Linked DNA regions of Homo sapiens: regions 1, 2, 3 and 5 are each linked to region 4. Evidence: promoter capture Hi-C in 16 types of primary human blood cells and fetal thymus (Javierre and others, 2016). All regions are on one chromosome and are shown on one strand. The core of a region is centred on a gene start or on the middle of the fragment in contact, and the rest is flanking DNA. Distances in the headings are between cores, read along the strand shown.

Region 1 (2,700 bases), core at 41-2,540, 370 kb after region 4:
TTCCTGTGCTGGGCTGGCATGTGGTCCAGGAGTTGCCATGTGCCAGCTGTGTGTTCGAGGCATGCGGTCACATATGCTGTGGGCCGCACGTGAGTGTGTCAGTGTCTCCTCCCCATCACGAGCATCGGGGGTGGTGGTGAGTCACGGGCTCAGCCTTCGGCGCCAACTGTCATGTTTCTTCCCCCCAAATTTCACCCCCCACCCAGCCATGCACCACCCACCCCCACTCCAAGATCTGTGTCGCTTCTCTCTTCCATCCCCCTGTCCTGCTCAGCTCCTTCTGAGAGGCTGCAGGGTGTTCCCTGGGAAGGAGTCTCCCACTTCTGGCTCTGCCCTCCAGCTTCCTCTCCTTGTCCCATCCACCTTTCCCACTGCCTCTCTGCTCCTGTGACTAGAGAATGAGGGCCCCTTCTCTCCACCCACTCATCTCTGTGGGTCCCAAGGATTTCTCTGTGCACTATAGGGAATTCTCATACTCACCACCCATCCCCTCACCTCTATAGGAGCTATTTATATTGGGGGAGGCTTGCCCCGCATCTCCAGGCTGGCAGCTCCTGCCTCAGTGGCTCTCTTGTGTCTATGAGCCACATCCTTGTCTTTTTGGTACCCTGGTGTCTGTAGGCCTCCCTTGTTTCTGTGACCTTCTTCGGCTCTCCTTGGCTCTCTCCCTGCCCTGTGGACCGCTCCCCATATCTGAGGAGTGCTTTCTGTTTCCAGGGGCCTCTCTCTTGTGTCTCTGGCTTCTCCCGTTTTCCTTCGCGGGAGGTCTCTATGTCCACATTACTGCCCCTTGTCTCCGAGGTCCTTTTGCTTGTCTCTGTAGGCTGCTCCCTTGTCTCCATGGGCCTTTCTTTCTTATCCCTGGGCTTTTCCTGTCCTTGTCCTTGTGGGGTTTGTGGGCCTCAGCCCACTTCTCTGGACAGTCTTGACGGCTGTCTCTCTTCTCTTCATTTCTCTTCATCTCTGTAGCCCTCTCCCCTCATCTCAGTGGCCTTCTCCCTGGGTCTTCTTGCCTCTCATCTCTGTGGGCTCCTGTGCCCAGGGCTGCCTGGGCAGGGCGGTGGCATGGTGTGGTAGAGGGGGTGGCTCGGGGGTGGGCCTTCCATCCAATGCAGCTCCTTCTTCTCATCAGCATTCTCCTCGCGGGGGGCCCCCAGCCCCAACCAATACAGGCTCCCCCTCCCCCGACTCACCTCCCTACTCTCTCTTTGCCTGCCTCCCTCCCTTCCTCCTGCCCGCCCTCCTCCCTGCCTCCCTCCCTCCCTCTTCTCTCTCTCCTGAACCACCCCACTGCGCTCCAGGACCCAGCGCAGGCGGCAGGCGGGCAGGCAGGCGGCGGCCTCGGAGGGGAGACTGAGCGGTGGCGGCAGCCAGCGGCAGGGAGGCAGGCCCAGCCGGGGACTGGAGCCGGGGACTGGAGCCGGCTCCTCACAGGGGACCAGGAGTGTGTCGCCAGGCCCTCCCACTGAGGCCCAGCACCGGGAGCCCCTGGGACACCCCACCCTCCTCCGCCTTTCTCTTCCACCTGCTCCTCTCCATCCTCCTCTCCCTCCTCCCTATCTCTCCACCTCATTTGCCCCCTTCTTGGCCTCTCCGGGTCTCCCAGCTCTCCATCCTCCCCAGCTCTCCACTCCCGGGCTCTCCCCGCCCCCAGCATGCTTTTCCCGTGGGGGCTGAGGGCTTGAGGACTCCGGGCCCTTGCCTCAACCAGGGCAGGGCCCAGGCTCCAGGGGGGAGGGGGAAAGGGGGCGGCCCCCTCCCCCAGCAGGCCCTCCCCTCCCCCACTTCTCCTGATGGCCGGCTTCCTTTTCTCCACCCAGTCCTCGCCCCCTGTGGCCCCCCCAGGCCGGCCCGGCTAGGGGAGGGGGCGGGGGCCCTTTCCTGGGCCAGCTTCCCCCTCCCCCGGCTTTGCCTGTGCCCCCCCCTTCCGTTTTCACCTTCCTCTCCTCCTTTCCTCCCTCCTTCCCCTCCATTTGCTCCTTCCCCCTCTCCTCTCTCCCCTTCTCTCCTCCATTTTCTCCTTTCCCCTTCCTCCCCTCCCCGGCCCGCCCTCTCCTCTTCCACCTGTCCTTCCTCCCTGCTCCTGTGGAGCCACCGTTTTGGATTAGTTGGGAGCCACCACCGGCGGCGGGGGAGGGGGCCCTGTGGACTGCCCTCTCCCCCCGCCCAGCCCCACCACCACCCAGCGCCAGAGCACCTCCCGCTGTCGGTCTTCGGGCCTCGAGGGAGCCCAGCCCTCCGTCCCACCAGGATCCGTGAGTGTCTGCAGGGCAGGGATTGGGCTGGGTTCTGGGTCCTGGAAGGCTGGGCTCTGGTGCCGCCTGGCAGGGGGGCACCACATTCTCCCCGTTCTCCGGACTGGCAAGTACCCTCCCCCACTAGGGGCCTGCTCTGCGCCCTCCATCTCCTCAGCGTCCATTCACCTCGACCTCTTCTCACCTCTTCTTCTGGGTACATAGCTCACTGCCGCCCCTGGCCCTCTAGCTTTCTGGGGTCCTACGGGGCTGATTGCTCTTACTTGGGCTCTCACTTACCCCGGGCCCCTGGCATGTCCGTGCCCCTGCTGTCTCCAAGCCTCCGTCCTGGTCCCAGACTGGCTCTTTCTGTTCCTCTGAGCCTCATCCTCTGCCTGCGGTGGGCCTTGGCCCTGTCCCCACCCCGTCCAGTCTCTATCTCCTGGATATGTCTTTCCGCTTTTGA
Region 2 (2,700 bases), core at 80-2,579, 330 kb after region 4:
AGAAGGCAAGGTCAGCCCTACCTGGACCTCGTGACTTGAGGATGGGAAAGTGTAACCCCTGAAAGAGATGGGTTCTGTTGCTTGAATAAGTTGAAGAAGGGGCAGTGGGTACCAGGCCAATCAAAACTGCCCACCTGGAGGTGTGTGGTCAGTTCATCCACAGGGCCTTGGAGTCCAGGAGCCTGGCCCAGGCATGCCAGTTGCTCCCACTGGTTCCTGGGTTGGGATCTGCTGTTGCCTGTCTGTCCTGGAATTTTAGCATAAGGTAGCATGTGATGTAATATGCAGTCCATATGTAGGTATTTTTTTCTCCCTGTTGAATCATTCTCCATTTGTGGTATTCTGCCCTGATCGCCACAACTTCCTGGGTTCCATGTCACAGGGCCAACCACTGGGGGTCCAGAGAAGAACCCACACTGGAGAACGGCCACTCCTCTGCCCCTACTCCCATCTTTAGAGCTTGCCCTAGTGGAGTGACTGTACTAATCGACTGCAGGGGATAGGAGAATGGACTGCAGGGGATAAGAGTAGAAAAGAGAGCCCAGTAGGAAGTCCTTGAAGGCATACAGATGGGACATGAGGGTGGCTTGAGCCAGGAGGGTGAGGATGGGGATCCTGGTTGCTATTTTGTATTGATTGGATAGGTCAAGGATGACTCCTAGGATTTTGGCTTCAGCAGCTGGGTGGTAATGACGTGGTTTCCTGAGTTGGGGAAGATGGGAGGAATGGGATGTTTTGGAAGGCTGGGGTAGAGAGCCAGCAGTTTCATTTTGGACATGTTAGGGTTTGATGAGTCTATTAATCATCCACATGGGAACATCAACTAAGCAGATGCATATTTGAGGCTGAAGCTCAGCAGAGTATCTGGGCAGGAGCTGGAAGTTGTTAGTTGTCAGGAAGAGAATGAATTTGGCCAGGCACAGTGGCTTATGCCTATAATCCCAACACTTTAGGAGGCCAAAGCAGGAGGACGGCTTGAGGCGAGTTCGAGACTAGCCTGGGCAACATAGAGAGACCCTGTATCTTAAAAAAAAAAAATTAACCAGGTGTGGTGATGCATGCCCATAGCCCCCAAGCTACTTGAGAGGCTGAGGCAGGAGGATCGCTTGAGCATGGGAGGTCAAGATGGCAGTGAGCTATGATTGCACCATGACACTCCAGCCCAGAAGATAGAGTAAGACCCTGTCTCCAAAGAAAGAGAGAAAGAAAGAAAAGGAAAGAAGGATAGATGGACAGATGGAAGGAAGGAAGGACTCAGCCAGATTGGGTTCCCACCCTCAAGAGCTCACATTCAAGTGTGGTGACATGAGGTGGGCAATGGTAGCAAATGCTCATTTTGAGGGATATGTTGTAATTTCCAAAATGCTTTCTAGATAATATTACTCAGGCCTCAGAACAACCCAGTGAAAAAGTAGACATTATTATCCCCATTTTACAGATAAGAAAACTGAGGCCCTGGGAGAGAAATGACTCAGTCATAATGACTGCCATTTATGAAGGACCAATTAAGTGAAGAGGAATCAGGCTAAACATTCTACACATATTGTCTCATTTAATTCCTTTAACAGCTCCATGAAGTAAGACTTATTGTGGTGTCACCTGAGGAAACTGAGGCTTAAAGAGGGTAAGGAACGGCCTGAGGTGTGTGAGGGGCAGTCAGGATTCTGGGCTCCAAGGCCCAGGTCTCTCCATAACAACTTGCATCGTGATCCTGTACAGTTAAGGAGGCTGGGGCCCAGAGGGAAAGTGGCTTCCCCCAGGCACACAGCAAGAAGCAGGTGAGAGGGCTAAGGCTCAAACCCCCGAGTTTCCAAGCTGGAAGGGACCCTTGCACCCCACTAGTCTAACCTTCCCCTAGGTTAGGCGTTTCCTTGTTGGTGTTGTTGCCAGGTGGGGATTTTCACCCAGGTGGCTTCCATGGCAGGCACCCACTCCCTTCCCAGGCAGTGCGTCCCACCACCAGACAGACTGAGATTACTCAGAGTGTCAGAAAGCCTGACCTCATTTTAATTTTAAGTTTTATTTTATTTATGTAGTTATTCATTTTTTTAGAGACGAGGTCTTGCTCTATCACCATCATAACTCACTGCAGTGAGGTGCAGTGGCGCCATCATAACTCACTGCAACCTCAACCTCCTGGCTGAAGCAATCCTCCCACCTCAGCCTCCCAAGTAGCTGAGACTACAGGCATGTACCATCATATCTGGATAAGTAAAAAAAAAAAAAAAAATTGTGGAGATGGGGTTTCACTATGTTGCCCAACTGGTCTTGAACTTCTGGCCTCAAGTGATCCTCCCACCTCAGCCTCCCAAAGTGCAGGGATTATAAGCGTGAGTCACTGCATCCAGCTGAGTTTTATTTTATTTTTAAGTAGCAAATAATCATTGTATATATTTATGGAGTAAAATATGATGTTTTGATACAGGTATACATTGTGGAATGATCAAATCAGGCTAATTAGCATACTTATCACCTCAAATATTTATCATTTCTTCGTGGTGAAAACATTTAAAGTACTCTTCTTGCCAGACACAGTGGCGCAGTGTAATCCCAGCTACTTGGGAGTCTGAAGCGGGAGGATGGCCTGAGCCCAGGAGTTCAAGGCTGCAGTGAGCTATAATCACGCACTGCACTCCAGCTTGGGTAACAGAGCAAGACCCTGTCTCTTAAAAAACAAAAACTAAAACTAAAACTCTGTCT
Region 3 (2,700 bases), core at 52-2,551, 350 kb after region 4:
ACCCTGTGCCCCTCTGGTACTGGCGAATGCCTCTCCCTCCCCCCACATGCACGCACGCACACACCCCAGTGGTGGGGTTCCTCGAGATGGCATCCCCATCAGGGTCCATGTGGTGGGGACAGTGCCACAGCCTGTGGTCCCCATCTGAGAGGGCGCGGTGGTGGCCACCACTCCCACAAGACCTCCACAACTCTTGGCTGGACCCTGTGTTTGACCAGCCCCGGACACGTCTCCACTGACGACGGACAGAGGAGAGACACCACTGGGAGCCACCCTGCCCTCCTGCTATTGTGGAGGCCAACAAAGTTTTGAACCGAAAACCAAAAAAACAGAAACAAACAAACAATAAATTTAAACTAGAAAAAAAATTTATATATATATATAAACATATATATATATATATATATAAAAGGGAAAGAAGATGAGGACTCTTCAAGAATAAGATGGAACCGCGAGGCGGAGCCAAGCCCCTGCACCGGTGGTCCAGGCCCTTGTTCCCCAAGGCGGATGGAAGGACGGATGCTTCTTTCTCTTCACAAATACCTCATGGACGTTGTCTTTGGGAAAGCCGGAGGGGGCGGCTGGGGCAGGGCCTGTCCCTCGGCCAGGGCAGATGGAAGCGGGTGGGCGGGGCTGAGAGAGGGTATCAGGGACAGGGGTGAAGAGCCCCAAACTCCCCTCCCAAATCAACTGAAAAAGCTTTAAAAAAAGACAGGAAAAAAAGGAGTAAGAAAGCAAAAAGAACAGATGAAGGAAAACTTAACAACTTTTGGGTGGTTTGATTCCTCCTTTGATTTCTTTTTCGGTTCTCTTTTGTCTGACCTCTCTCCTCCCCTCCTTCCTCTCTCCTCCCCTCCTTCCTCTCTCCTCTCCTCCTTCCTGTCTCCTCTCTCTCCCTTTGCTCTCCTCTCTTCTCTCTCAATCTTGTTCTTTCTGTGTCTCTCCTCAAACCAAAGTGTTGCAGTGAAGGACACGAGCCATTGAAATCAGGGTGGGGCCTGACAGCCGTAGTGTGGCCCCTGCCCCTTGTTGGGCAGGAGCAGAGAGAGAGGAGAGCCCTGAGACCGCAGGGCTTTGGCCTGGGCAGCTTCCACTTTCTGCCGGACACTCTGAGGAGAGGCAGATGGAGCTCCAGGCCTCAGCGTTCTCTTTTTTCCTTGTCTCCCTTCTCCCACCCGGGAAATGAAACTGTTGGGCTGGGCGACGGAGGCAGCAGAGACTCGGCCATTGCAGGGGCCTCTGGGTGCCTTGTCCGGGCAGTGGTGAAGTAGCCGCCCCTCCCACCCCGGCACGATGGGGCCTGGCACCTCGTCTACCCAACCTCACCGGAATGTAAGCATCTCCGCTGAACGACTCCCTGCCCTTACCCTACCTCTGAGTTTGTCCATGTTTATTTCCTGAAGAGAGAAGGGACTGGCAAGAGGGCTTGGGCCCCAGCCCAAGGGTGGAGAGGGGGCCAAGGGCTCCTGACCAAATAGGAAGGACATTTGAGCAGAGCAAAATGAAAGGAATTACAACCAAAAACCCCCTCCGAGAAGACAGGCAGCATGGAAGGCATGGTGGAGATGACTCAAACAAAAACTATGATTCTAGACCAAAAAGGAAAAAAAAAAAAAAAAAAGGAAAGAAAATCCAGGACTCACCACCACCCACTTCATCCTGCTTCCTCCCCATCAAGTCCCACCACCTGGGACCTCTCCCCACCCCAGTATGTGGGAGTGGGGTAAAGAGGAGAGGAGGAGCAGGGGGCAGGGATGGGGCAGATGCCCTGATGTTGGTGGAGGGACCCCTGTGCAGCCGGGGGTGCTGGGGACCCTCCCCATCCAACCCTCACACCTAGGAAAAGAAAAACAAGAAAAAAAAATTCCTGGGAGGGGGAAAAATAACCAAATCCCAAGCTTTAACTACAGCTGTGAAACCAAATATTGGGAAGGGGGTAGGAGGGAGGGAGGGGCAGGTGAGCCCCAGGTCTCCCCCTGGGCCCCCCTCCCCTGAGGACTCGAGATAAGGCACCAAATACCTCATAGAACTTTAATGTTAAAAAAAGGAAACCAAATATCGTTGGCTGGGGGCCAGCCAGGGCAAGGGGCTGGGGGGCTGGAGGGAGCCAGGGTTGGGAAGGTGATGGGGGAATTCATGCCCCCCACCCCCATCTGCCCCTTACACTCTGGTCCCCCGTCTCGACTCCGGGAAACAAAACTATCTCATCGTTTTTATTTTGTGGTCTGTACAGAGCCTGTGTCCGTGTGTCTGTGTATGAGCGAGAGAGTTGGAGGGCTGGGGAGCTTTATGTGGGGGATGGGGAGGGCAACCCCAGGCTAGGCTATGGGCTAGGTTAGATGTCCGAGGTTGGGGGCCAAGGGCCTGGGCTAGAAAGAGAGGAGAGATGAGTGGGTTGGAGCAGTGGGGAGCCCTCTGAATTTCTCTTCTCCCCAACCCTGACCTCCTACTTAAGGGAGGGACAGAGACTGGGTCTACCCTAATGGTGGGCCTTTTCATTGTGCCAAAAAAAAAAAAAAAAAAATTGATGCCAGTAACTAAACCACCTCTCTCTGTTCTCTTCTGGGGGGTGGGGTGGGTGTGTGTGTGGGGGTGGGTAGGGATGGGGAACCCAAGCCCCAGTAGGAGTTGGGGCTGAGATCAGGAGGAGGGGAAGGATATGAGTTTTCCATCCATCTCCCTGGAGAAGGCCATGACGGG
Region 4 (2,754 bases), core at 126-2,625:
AGCTCAAGTTCCACCCAACCAAGTCCCTCTCAGTCCCCCTGCACTCCTGCCACTTTGAGAGATGACTGCACCCATATCTCTAGGCTTTATGAAATGGATGTCATCTCCCTGGTTTTAGAATTTTCCAGAAAGAAGCCACATCAGTGATTTGCATCAGAACAAGCTTAGGCCCACCCTGAGCCTTCAACTTGGACACAGGCTCAGTCATAGCAGTCCCTGGCCCCTGCAGTGCTTTATAAACACTGCAGTAGCAAAGTCCACAATCAACTCTGTGACAAGTCAACAGGCCGAGATAATTTGAAAACGTGGAGAAAAAAGAATGGTCAAACAAAACCAAAGGGCTTTGACTCATGCCTTTCCTCTTTCCTTCTCTCAGGGAAATAAAGTCACACCCCCTGCTCTCACTCCTGCCTGGAGGCTTCCAAAAAAAGGGCTCCCTTGTTAGCCTTCCCTTCAGCCCCCATGAATATCACCCAGCATTCAAGCCCAGCCTCTCCTCTCCCTTTGAGCACATTTCCTAAAGTCTCAAATAAATGTCAAGTTTAGTGAGTGCTGATATTCTATGCCCCTAATGTTTACTTCAAGTATTATTACCTTTCTTCTTTTGCCCGGGGCCATTTCCAAACAAGGGCTGGAGCCAGGCGCCCCAGCAGCTGGGCAAACACACTTCAGGGCTCCTTCCCTCCTGTGGCTCCTGTTTCTCAAACCCTCTGAGACCTAAAGCTCTGGGGGTCTCTTCCCCCAACCCAGTTCCCTCCCCTTTAGACCAGAACAACTAAGCCATGGCCACCTTCCCGATGGACACACAAGGAGGCCTGGTGTCACCCACTGCTCCAGGGGCGGTGTTCTCGGCAGGGGAGCTGCCTCTTGTCCCGGATCCTGCTCTGCTGCCATCTTATGTGGCTGCAGAATTGGAGGGAATTGTGAACAGAGAGAGGACAGGGCAACTTCCCAGGCAACAACACTACTATTGCCGATATTTTGCCAAGGATGGGAGCAGGAGCACAGAGGGGAAACAGACCTTGTCAAAGTCTCTTCTACCAACACTTAGTATCCACTTTCCTGCCAAATATTCAGATAGAGAGGGTCATTGAAAGGTATAAGGAAATCCAAGCAAGAAAAAAAGATTTGAGGAAGAAATCATGAGGCATTGGGGTGTGAGGAGGCGGGAAAGAGTACAGGAGAGAACTGGCACAGCTGCCAAGTTATCAGTCACCTTCTTATGTTCTTAAGAATGCTGAATTTCTTTTGTTTGACCAGTTTCACCTCCCAGATTCCCATAAAGCACATGGTCTAATCTGTTACGTAACAGCAAGACAGCGTCACCTCACCTGTTCTCGCCCTCAAATGGGAACGCTGGCCTGGGACTAAAGCATAGACCACCAGGCTGAGTATCCTGACCTGAGTCATCCCCAGGGATCAGGAGCCTCCAGCAGGGAACCTTCCATTATATTCTTCAAGCAACTTACAGCTGCACCGACAGTTGCGATGAAAGTTCTAATCTCTTCCCTCCTCCTGTTGCTGCCACTAATGCTGATGTCCATGGTCTCTAGCAGCCTGAATCCAGGTAAACAAGACTGTCTATGAAGGGGAAAACGGGGGGAGAAATGTGGCAAAACAGGCCACAGACACATCAAAATGCAGCTTCTCTTAGCTATGGGGGATGGGGCAAGTGAGCCTTTCTCAATGCCAGTTTCCTCCTTTACAAAAAAACAGCAAACTGTACTTACACCCAAACAATGTTGAGAGAGTTAAACGAGATATTGTATGTGAAAATATCTGCAACTGGCCGGGCGCGGTGGCTCACTCCTGTAATCCCAGCACTTTGGGAGGCCAAGGCAGGGCGGATTACAAGGTCAGGAGATCGAGACCATCCTGGCTAACACGGTGAAACTCCATCTCTACTAAAAATACAAAAAATTAGCCAGACCTGGTGGCACGCACCTGTAGTCCCAGCTACTCAGGAGGCTGAGGCCAGAGAATTGCTGGAACCCAGGAGGTGGAGGCTGCAGTGAGCCGAGACGGCACCACTGTACTCCAGCCTGGGTGACAGAGTGAGACTCCATCTCAAAAAAAAAAAAAAAAAAAAAAGGAAAGAAAAGAAAAGAAGATATCTGCAATTGTAGCTGATCCCCCTCACACACACGTACGTATGTATGTATATACTAGCTCAACAAAGATTTGCTCCCATGCCTTCTCCCCCAACACTTTTCCAAAAGAGTAACATAATTCTCATGGCTAAACTTAATGATGATGGTGGGAGAGTGTTGAAGGCAATGGTACCTTTATAGAAGATCAGGAAGTCCTTGCTTCTATTCTTTACAGTGCACTGGAATGCCACCAACATGTCTTAATGCTATTTACTGGTAACGTAATAAACTAGAAAAAGCCTGTCACCAGGTAGTGTCCATATTTGAAGCTTTATCCATAGCAAGCCCTGCTGTAACAGCTCACATTTTGGGAAGCCGACTTTAGCTTAGGGGTTCCAAATCTGCTCCAGCTTTCACTATAAAGTGGCCCAGCCCTGCACAGAGCAACCACGCAGAAAAGACCTGATCCCCATGTATATTTCCGCTTGTGAGCACCATCTCCCCAAAGGCCACTTTGAGGTGAAATGGCTATGTTACATACTCAGCATCAACTTGGTCCTAAAATCAGGAGGCATTCTCCCTTCTCCACCCCAATTTCCAACATCCCCTCCTTTGTAGAGAGAGTGCTCTGGAAGCTGTTAAGCCCCATAGCCCTAGGGCCTAG
Region 5 (2,700 bases), core at 47-2,546, 280 kb after region 4:
CCCTCTCCCTCTCTGACGAAGCCCTGGCTGCTTGGACCAGGCACTTGACGCCCTGCAGGGAGCAGCCCCTGCAATCTGGAAGCCTCGTCTTTCCCCATTTTTCTTACTGAACCCTGGACAGGCAAAGTCCTGGCATTCTCTCGTTCCTTGCACCTGGTTCTTTCTCTGATTAAAATTTGTCTTCCAGGTTTGGCTTGGGTGTTGTTTCCTCCCTAAGTCTTCTGTGATCTCACCCAGGATGCCCGCAGCACCCTCTGCTTACCCCAGCATGTTGGCATTGGCTCTTCCTTCTGTCTCCTCAACTTGCCTGTGAGCCCCGTAATAGAGCAGAGACCTTGTCTAATTCATCTCTGTCCCCTGCCACACTTGATTCAGAGCCAGAGAAATCTCAATATTTGTTGATGAACTAAATGCACAAATGAATGGACAAATGTACAAGTCAGAAATATCATTATGACTTTTATTTTTAATCTCCCCAGAGCACATAGGAACTTAATAATGAGTAACCTTTTCAAATTTCTTTCTCATTTGTTCCTCGTAGCAGTCCTTTGAGATACACCATTTAATCAGTTAATTCCTCCATCCACCCATCCATTCACTCCGTCGTCCGTTATGCACTAATTGAGCATCTCAAATTTGCCAGGCCCTCTGCCAAACACAAAAGCTTCAAGACACAGTTACAGTCCCTGCACTTTAAGAAGCTTCCAGTCTGATGGGAAAAACAGATGTTCCACAGTGGCAGGCACTAGTATGCCCATTTATGAGTTGGGGACACAGAGGCTCAGAGGCCAGAAGTGACTACTGAAGGCAACAAGTGGCTGACTGGACCTGAGTTCCAGGCACCTGACTCCACAGTTAGCCAACTGCAGCTCCTGATGATGTGACAGGAGGAGGGTTCCTCCACTGGAGGAGTGCATCATCCTGCATGAGGATGGGGAATTCTCCGGGATGTTGACTGCATTCTCCTCTCTCTCCAGGTTCTCGACTGGACCGGGTTGGTGGCCTGAATGTATTAGCTTCGCTGCGTCTGCCCAAGAGGTAAGGACCACGGCCTTAGAGTTTTGCTTATTGATGCACCTTCTGGTTTCTCACAGAAGTCTCTGCTTTCCCATCCTCGTCTCTGGCCTCACCCTGGGTGTGTTGCTGCCCTTCTCCACTCTGCCCACCCAGAGGTTAGAATCTGACTGCTTTGTTCTCACCCTCCATGCATCCTGTGGCTTTCGGGCCAAACCAGTGGTTCTTGGTGTTGATGACTGTGGGTGTTTCTGCTGATCAGTGTTACGGCTCAGTAGGAGAGAGATGGGGGTAACTCGGTGGCTCAGATCACAGCTTTGGGTTCAAGCACACCTATGTTCGAATCTCTTTTCCTGACTTCGAGGGACTTGGGAAAGTTTGAGCTTCCATTTCCTTGTCTGTAAATGGGAATACTAATAGAACCCACCTTAAGTGCCATCCTGAGAGCAAAAGGAGATAGAGGAAGAAGAGCCAGGTGGCTGAGTGATCCTGGGCATGGCTCAGTTTCCCCATCTGTCAAAGGAGGGTAATTAATAGCATTTACCACATGGAGGTGGCGTGAAGATGAAAGTACTTATTCCTTGAAATCGTGTGGCTGCAGGAAGTGGGAGCTCAAAATATGGCTGGAAGCGTTCCCCTGAACAAAGAAGGTTTTATGAAGCCCCTCCCTGAAGCCCACTGAGACTCCCAGGTAGAAGCCATAGTTCTCCTGCTGCTCACCTCTGTGGGAAGCAGGGGCTCTGGCCATTTGCCCTGGTGTTTGCTCCAGCTTGCTTGGTGAGGCCCTGGCAATGAGCATCTAGGGAGGAGGGTGGACAGGGCTTCTGGGGTGGGACAGCCCTCTACTGCCACCCCTATTCCCACCAGAGAAGCTTAACCCACAGGTCTCAGGACCCCAGGGAGGCCTTTGGGTGCCCTTGTAGGACTCCTGGGTAGGAGTCCTTTGCTGTACCAGGAATCACAGTCTCATTTTAAGAAGCAGATGGAAGCTGTAGCCCAGGGTTTGCAACCCAGCATTGTAGGGACTATGATGGACTGAAAAATGCATGGGGTGGGGGACTGCTTTTTAGCTCCACTGACTGTTCTCATGCACAGATGCAACCCTGACTTGCCAGGGTTTCTGATTTTTCAAGAGAAGCCAGGAACCCAGACTTGTGTGTGAAGTCTTCCAATCTTTAAATGTTGGCAACTAATGCAAAACTTGCAAAATCTCCTCGTGGTCCAAACAACATATTTCAGGCAACCTTTGGCCCATAGATACCTAGTTTCACAACAGTATAGAGCTTCTCCCAGGAAAACACATACCTACATTTGCCCAGTTGTGCTACACTTTGGGATGATCACAGACCCCCTGAAGCTCATTCATGGACCCCTGTTATCGCTGAGAGTGTTTGTTCCAGGATGTGTCATTTCTCTAGAGTGCTTTCTCCAGGGAACCGAAGTTGCAGTTTTTCCAGGAATCCTCACATCCTCGAAAAGAGAGTCAAGGAATTTCCAGGTTGCAGAATTAGTTTGGGAGCTAGAGACTGGCTTTGAGGAACGTCTGAAAGTTGGGCTGAAGTAACAGAGGGGTTTAATTATGTTTCCAGTTGGTAGAGGTCACTGTTAGGTCTATGATTTCAATTATTTGTCTTCAAATAGATGTTCATTAAATATCCATGATTTCATGGACATGTGGGTGACTGA

The links. Contacts are between HindIII fragments. The CHiCAGO score rates a contact against its expected background, and 5 or more counts as called.
Region 1: the fragment with the promoter of GRIK5 here is called in contact with the fragment with the promoter of CXCL17 in region 4 in 9 of 17 cell types (naive CD8 T cells, naive CD4 T cells, erythroblasts and 6 more); the score reaches 7.7 in naive CD8 T cells.
Region 2: a contact is called between a fragment that was not itself captured here and the fragment with the promoter of CXCL17 in region 4, in 14 of 17 cell types (fetal thymus, naive CD4 T cells, total CD8 T cells and 11 more). The highest score is 21.1, in fetal thymus.
Region 3: a contact is called between a fragment that was not itself captured here and the fragment with the promoter of CXCL17 in region 4, in 5 of 17 cell types (naive CD4 T cells, total CD8 T cells, fetal thymus and 2 more). The highest score is 8.0, in naive CD4 T cells.
Region 5: a contact is called between a fragment that was not itself captured here and the fragment with the promoter of CXCL17 in region 4, in 2 of 17 cell types (erythroblasts and naive CD4 T cells). The highest score is 5.5, in erythroblasts.

The regions. Positions count from the first base shown.
Region 1 is chr19:42,068,796-42,071,495 of GRCh38, reverse strand. GRIK5 (glutamate ionotropic receptor kainate type subunit 5) reads left to right here and starts at 1,290. Exons shown (of 20, transcript NM_002088.5): 1 at 1,290-2,255. It also overlaps a transcript of ZNF574 not described here. The HindIII fragment of the contact is 24,593 bases long and covers 1-2,700 here.
Region 2 is chr19:42,109,625-42,112,324 of GRCh38, reverse strand. The region is part of intron 5 of POU2F2 (POU class 2 homeobox 2); the gene reads left to right. Among named protein-coding and RNA genes, the nearest start is that of POU2F2, 21 kb to the left of the region's middle. The HindIII fragment of the contact is 4,296 bases long and covers 1-2,700 here.
Region 3 is chr19:42,087,419-42,090,118 of GRCh38, reverse strand. It overlaps POU2F2 (POU class 2 homeobox 2), which reads left to right. Exons shown (of 15, transcript NM_001394376.1): 15 at 1-2,700. Among named protein-coding and RNA genes, the nearest start is that of ZNF574, 13 kb to the right of the region's middle. The HindIII fragment of the contact is 1,199 bases long and covers 702-1,900 here.
Region 4 is chr19:42,441,567-42,444,320 of GRCh38, reverse strand. It overlaps CXCL17 (C-X-C motif chemokine ligand 17), which reads left to right and starts at 1,375. Exons shown (of 4, transcript NM_198477.3): 1 at 1,375-1,567. The coding sequence starts at 1,489. All of the region lies in intron 1 of LIPE-AS1 (LIPE antisense RNA 1), which reads right to left. The HindIII fragment of the contact is 2,256 bases long and covers 166-2,421 here.
Region 5 is chr19:42,158,670-42,161,369 of GRCh38, reverse strand. It overlaps a transcript of POU2F2 not described here. Among named protein-coding and RNA genes, the nearest start is that of POU2F2-AS2, 7.5 kb to the right of the region's middle. The HindIII fragment of the contact is 1,185 bases long and covers 704-1,888 here.